Regions from separate parts of the Homo sapiens genome. Here region 1 is linked to region 2. The links are contacts of gene promoters, found by promoter capture Hi-C in human tissues and cell types (Jung and others, 2019). All regions are on one chromosome and are shown on one strand. The core of a region is centred on a gene start or on the middle of the fragment in contact, and the rest is flanking DNA. Distances in the headings are between cores, read along the strand shown.

Evidence for each region. Contacts are between HindIII fragments. The study calls those that stand out against the background at their distance.
Region 1: a fragment that was not itself captured here is called in contact with the fragment with the promoter of TLDC2 in region 2 in 1 of the 25 tissues and cell types used here (aorta).

The regions. Positions count from the first base shown.
Region 1 is chr20:36,735,385-36,738,399 of GRCh38, forward strand. The region is part of intron 1 of NDRG3 (NDRG family member 3); the gene reads right to left. Among named protein-coding and RNA genes, the nearest start is that of NDRG3, 9.2 kb to the right of the region's middle. The HindIII fragment of the contact is 3,411 bases long and covers 1-3,015 here.
Region 2 is chr20:36,874,888-36,877,843 of GRCh38, forward strand. It overlaps TLDC2 (TBC/LysM-associated domain containing 2), which reads left to right and starts at 1,251. Exons shown (of 7, transcript NM_080628.3): 1 at 1,251-1,320. The coding sequence starts at 1,288. The HindIII fragment of the contact is 10,775 bases long and covers 1-2,956 here.

The sequences.
Region 1 (3,015 bases), core at 448-2,947, 140 kb before region 2:
TCCAAAACCTGAAACACTTCTGGTCCCAAGCATTTTGGATAAGGGATACTCAACCTGTATTTCCATGTGTCCCACTCTCTGAAGGATTGAATGCTGCTTGAGTTATCATGTTTACATTGCAGCTAGTGTTTGGAACATACACTCAGAGCTAATGAAGCTCAAAACCAATGCAGAGGCAGGAGAAATAACTAAGGATTAGGATGGTCAGGAGTTTCCCAAGGGAAGGGAGAATGATGGGCCCTAAAGGGATATGTTTTGAACAGGGGAAGGGAGGAGGGACATACAGGTGAGGACATCAGGGTTGGGAAAGAAAGAATTAAAGACAATACACTCAGGCAGGGCACCTGTAATCCCAGCACTTTGGGAGGCTGAGGTGGGAGGATCACTTGAGGTCAGAAGTTCAAGATCAGCCTGGCCAACAAAGTGAAACCCCATTTCCACTAATAATACAAAAATTAGCTGAGCATGATGGCGCATGCCTTAATCCCAGCTCAGGAGGCTGAGGCTTGAACCCAGGGGGTGGAGGTTGCAGTGAGCCGAGATTGCACCATTGCACTCCAGCCTGGGCAGAGCGAGGCCCTGTCTCAAAAAAAAAAAAAAAAAAAAAAAGACAATACATTCAGGAGACACCAAGAACAATATAGCTGGGAAAGAAGACAAGCTGCAGAAGTAGCCTAGGTCAGAATGCAGAGCACCTGAGCTGGACTTTACTACACAGACAACCCCTGAAGGTTTCTGAGGAGCAGAATGACACAGAAGCTTAACTTTTTTCAGTTGTTTAAAACTTGGTCATGTTGTCCACGTAGTTATCTTAGCTACACTTAAACCTGGGAAGCAGTGAAGATTATCAATGACTCAGCCCCAACCTTAAAGATCCAATTTAATTGGGCTAACGTAGGGCCTGAGTATTGTTTTTAAAGCTTCACAGGTAATTCTTACATGCAGCTAGGGCTAAGAACCACTGGTTTACAGTAATGCCCTCATTCTCCAATGAGAAAAGAGGCCCAGAAAATTTAAGTGATTTCTGAATTCACACAGCCAGCTAGGTGTGGAGCTGGAACTAGCATGCGGATTCCTAGCTCAGCTCTGAAAGAGATCCCAGAGTACTGGGCTAAATTCCATACTTCAGTCTAGAAGATGCACAATTATCTGATGACTTGGCTCTTAAGTTTCCTCAGGGTTAAAGGCTGAATTAATCTAATCCTAAAACTATTGACTTAAACATCCCCTCAAGTGTCTACGGTAATGGATGTTGGTTCTACTGCTGTCTCCTGGGGGCCCTTAGGAAAGCAAAGGATCTCAGGAGACTCCCCCAGGAAGCCAGATAAACAAGCCAAACCACCCAGCTCCATGGAAGACTTTTAAAAATGCAGCTGAGATTTTTCACTGCATAAAGGAAAGTCTGGGTACCTCTTCGCCAGAAGAAATTCTCTCAGAGATGCTATCCCCCCTATCTCCATAAGCTAAGGGGTGGGGAAGGATCAAAGGCAGCTACTTAAGTAGCTGATATGCTCACAGATCCTCACTGTAACAGGAAGTACCCCTGCTCATCCTCAGGCCTAGATAAGGGCCATTCACACCCCTCATATTTTCCTGAAAGGAAAAGGGCAGCAACCCCTGCAATAGGCCCACCTTCCTGTTGTGTCACTCCTGGGTTCTGGCAGCAGGTGGTAAATGAGAGGTTTGTAGAGACTGCCAAGCTGGAAATCTGAGTCTGTCTTATATATTAATTCTATCCCTTCCAGGGTCCTGGTATAAATAACTGCTAGAACAAAGCAAGACCCATCTAGGAGCCTTCTTGTTAATCCCAGACACCCATCGGCCAGCGGAAGTTTTAACACAGGAGTCATACTAAAGTAACTCTAAAAGCAGAAGCACAACCCCCTGCCTTCCACTCCTGAAGAAGGCAACTCAGGACACGAGGAAAGCTACCACCAGCAAAGCCCTGGGGTGTGCTCTTAGATGGCTCCAGGTTCCTGCCAGCTGTAAGGCGGAATCCCTAAAAACAATTTGTACTTTAAGGCAGCCTGAGTGAGGTAAAGGACAAACAAGAGCCCTAAAATGCAGTATATAATACTCATACGAGCCAAATTTATTGAGCGCTTAACACTATGCCAGGTACCGTGATAAGCACTTTATGGATTCATTATTTCATTGTGCTTCCCAACATATTTAATCCACCCCATTTTACAGATGAAGAAACTGAAGCTCGGACGGGGTATTGTAATTTGCCAAAGGTCACACAGCTAGCAAGCAGCAGAGCAAGGATTTGAACCTGAGCAATCTGCATCCTGACCTCTATAACCAATTTTCCCCACTTGATGCCATCTGATCATTAATCCTTCTAATGCATATTCTCAGGTTAGGTTACGGGAGCTTACCAGGATGTTACTATAAAATAATTCTGAAAATTGGCTGGGCGCAGTGGCTGATACCTGTAATACCAGCACTTTGAGAGGCTGAGGTGGGCGGAGTTTGAGACCAGCCTGGCCAACATGGTGAAACTCACCTCCACCAAAAATACAAAAAATTCGCCAGGCATGGTGGCGGTCACCTGTTGTCTCAGCTACTCAGGAGGCTGAGGCATGAGAACTGCTTGAACCTAGGGGGTGGAGGTTGCAGTGAGCTGAGATTGTGCCACCGCACTCCAGCCTGGTGACAGAGCAAGACTCTGTCTCAAAAAAAAAAAAAAAATTCTAAACCCCATACAAAATTTAGGTATCGTTATTATCATTACTACTTTAATATGAGACTTGTACCTACCTGGGGGTATTGGAAATGCAATACAACCTGTGGACTAATCATCCAAAGTTATATTTTAGTGAACACCCTGGTTAAAACCATCCCAACAAAATGACTTAAAAGCAACACTTTCTCCTAGCACTTTCGGAGGCCAAGGCAGGAGTTCGAGACCAGCCTGGCCAACATGGTGAAACCCCGTCTCTAATAAAAATACAAAAATTAGCCAGGCATGGTGGCAGGTACCTATAATCCCAGCTACACGAGAGACTGAGG
Region 2 (2,956 bases), core at 1-2,500:
TTTTTTTTTTTACTGAACATTAACAAAAGTTTATTTATGTTTCAATTTAGAAATTCATATGTTCCATAGTGAAACCCCGTCTCTACTAAAAATACAAGAAATTAGCCAGGCGTGGTGGTGGGTGCCTGTAGTCCCAGCTACTTGGGAGGCTGAGGCAGGGGAATGGCGTGAACTCGGGAGGCAGAGCTTGCAGTGAGCCAAGATCATGCCACTGCAGTCCAGCCTGGGCGACAGAGTGAGACTCTGACTCAAAAAAAAAAAAAAAAAAAGAAATTCATCTGTTCCCCCCACCCCCATCTGAAACTAAATATGGAAAAAGAAACAAAGACTTAATAAAGAAACTTTCTGTTAAATGACAAGCAAAGCAATGATGAAAGCCTAAAATACATCTGTGTTTAGGATGCAAAGTAAAAATAGCTTTTTTTTTTTTTTTTTTTGAGACAAGGCCTCACTCTTGCCCAGGCTGGAGTGCAGTGGCATGATCTCGGCTCACTGCAGCTTCCTCCTCTCAGGCTCAGGTGATCCTCCCACCTCAGTCTTCCGAGTAGCTGGGATTAAGGCGCACGACACCATGCCCAGCTAATTTTTATATTTTTTGTAGAGACAGGGTTTCACCATGTTGCCTAGGCTGGTCTCAAATTCCTGGACTCAAGTGATACGGCTCCCTCAGCCTCCCAAAGTGCTGGGCTTACCGGCATGAGCCACTGCACTGGGCCAGATTGTTCTTTCAGTCTAGGCATGCCCCCTTCTAGCTTCTGTTCTAACACACTCATCGGCTTGGAGAGGGAAGTGAATGGCAGACTGTCAGTCCCGCGAAGTCTTCTGAGATTATCTGGTTCAACATGTTACATGTTGTGTGTGGTGAAACTGAGGCTCAGGAGTGCAAATGGGCTTATCCAAGGTCATACGGGGAACTAGAGGCCCCAGACCTCCAGCCTGGGCCTTAGGCATCTGGCCAATGGCCCACAGTCCCAAGGCCAGGCTGCCAGAAGGACAAGGAGGTAGAAAGGAATTGCAACCAGAATCTATGGTGTATGGTTAATACGTGTTACATGCTAACTGCAATGAGGTCTTGAATGCCGAGTTGCTCACAGACTCACCCAGCAGCAGCTCGGCCTGGAGTGACAGGTGAGAGGGAGCAAAGGGCAGCTGGCGTGGGCATGGAGCTGGCTGGGTGTGCCCCAGGCCTCTCCCTCTCATCTCTAGGCCTCACCTATCAGCGCTTCCTTCCTGGGCAGGGCTGAGGATTCACTCACTGCCCACGGCCGGCTGAGCAGGGACAGGAGAATGAGAGGCCTCCGCTGGCGTTACACTCGGCTGGTAAGGGTTCCAACTCCGTCTGTGGTGCAGGTTGGGAGGTGAAAGGAGGTGAGGTCTCTGGCAGGGTGGGGCCTGGGCTAGGGTTGGATGCGGGCAGTGACTTGTTCCCCTCTCAAGTCCCTCCCTGGCAGGCCTGTGGTTTGGAGCAAGGACTGACTCAGGAACATGGGGTCTTAACACCCCTGCTCCAAGGTTCTCAAGGGGGACAGACCGATGTCTCTGTCCCTTCCTCCCTGGAGTGGGTGCTGGATGGAGCTCTGTTCAGAGCCACACACAGCTAGACCTGCCTCAGGCCTGAGCCTGGAGAACAGAGCGGGGCAGGAGAGGGGGTCCTGTCCATCTCTCAGCCCTTGAGAGGTCTCTTCTTCCTGGGAAAAGCCTGCAAGGTCATTGTGTGGAGGCACACACATACACATACATATAACATATACACACTCACACGCATACACATGCAAACACACACACTCACACACTCAAACACACTCAAATGCACTCATACACACTCAAATGCACTCACACACTCAAACACACATACAGACACACACACATTCAAACACACACACTCACACACACACTCTGGTACAGAGTGGAAGCTCGGATGAATGAATGAGTGAATAATGATGCCCCTTATGGATGTAGATATTTACACCATCACAACTCACACAAACACATTGATATATAAACACAAATTTACACTCAATACCTCCACACATTGATGTGCCTACACAACTCTATTCCAAGCCAACACACAATTCGCACAGACAAACACATTTTACATGAACCTACATGTATGATCCCACATATGACTGCATGCATCATTTCACGGGCTTCATGGGGAAACCTTTGGGCTTCATTTTCTTCCTTTGGAAAATGCTGATAAGAAGAAATACACAGAAGGCCAGGCGCGGTGGCTCACGCCTGTAATCCCAGCACTTTGGGAGGCCAGGTGGATCATCTGAGGTCAGGAGTTCGAGACCAGCCTGGCCAACAGGAGGAACCCGTGTCTCTACTAAAAATACAAAAATTAGCCAGGCATGGTGGTGGGCACCTGTCATCCCAGCTATTTGGGAGGCTGAGACAAGAGAATTGCTTTAACCTGGGAGCCAGAGGTCGCAGTGAGCTGACATTGCACCTCTGAACTCCAGCCTGGGTGACAGAGCAAGACCCTGTCTCAAAAAAAAAAAAAAAAGGAAAAAGAAAAAAGAAGAAGAAACACACAGAGATCACAGACAGTGCACACTGAACACAGGCCTGGGCAAGGATGGGTTTTTTGTTGTTATTATTTAATGTACAAACACACACAATTGAAGCTCCCAGGGCTATGCCACCACCTGCCTTCCCCTCTGCTCCCAAGCTTAGAACTTGATCCCTGCCACCCACCCAGGACCATGGCAAACAGACCGACAAGTCGCACGGCCCACGGCCCCATCTGAGCCTTGTGGGGTGCTGGCGGGGGTGGGGGGACTGTGCTCCAGCCCTCAGCTGGCAGGGGCCAGGGAGGAAGCAGGCTGGCGGCAGGGGCAGCGTCCTGTCTGTCGTGGAAACCCCCAACTACCCTGGGCTGGGCTGGGGGTTACAGGCACATGGGCAGGGAGTGATGAGGTGGCCCGAGGAGGCTCTTGGGCTCAGGAGATGG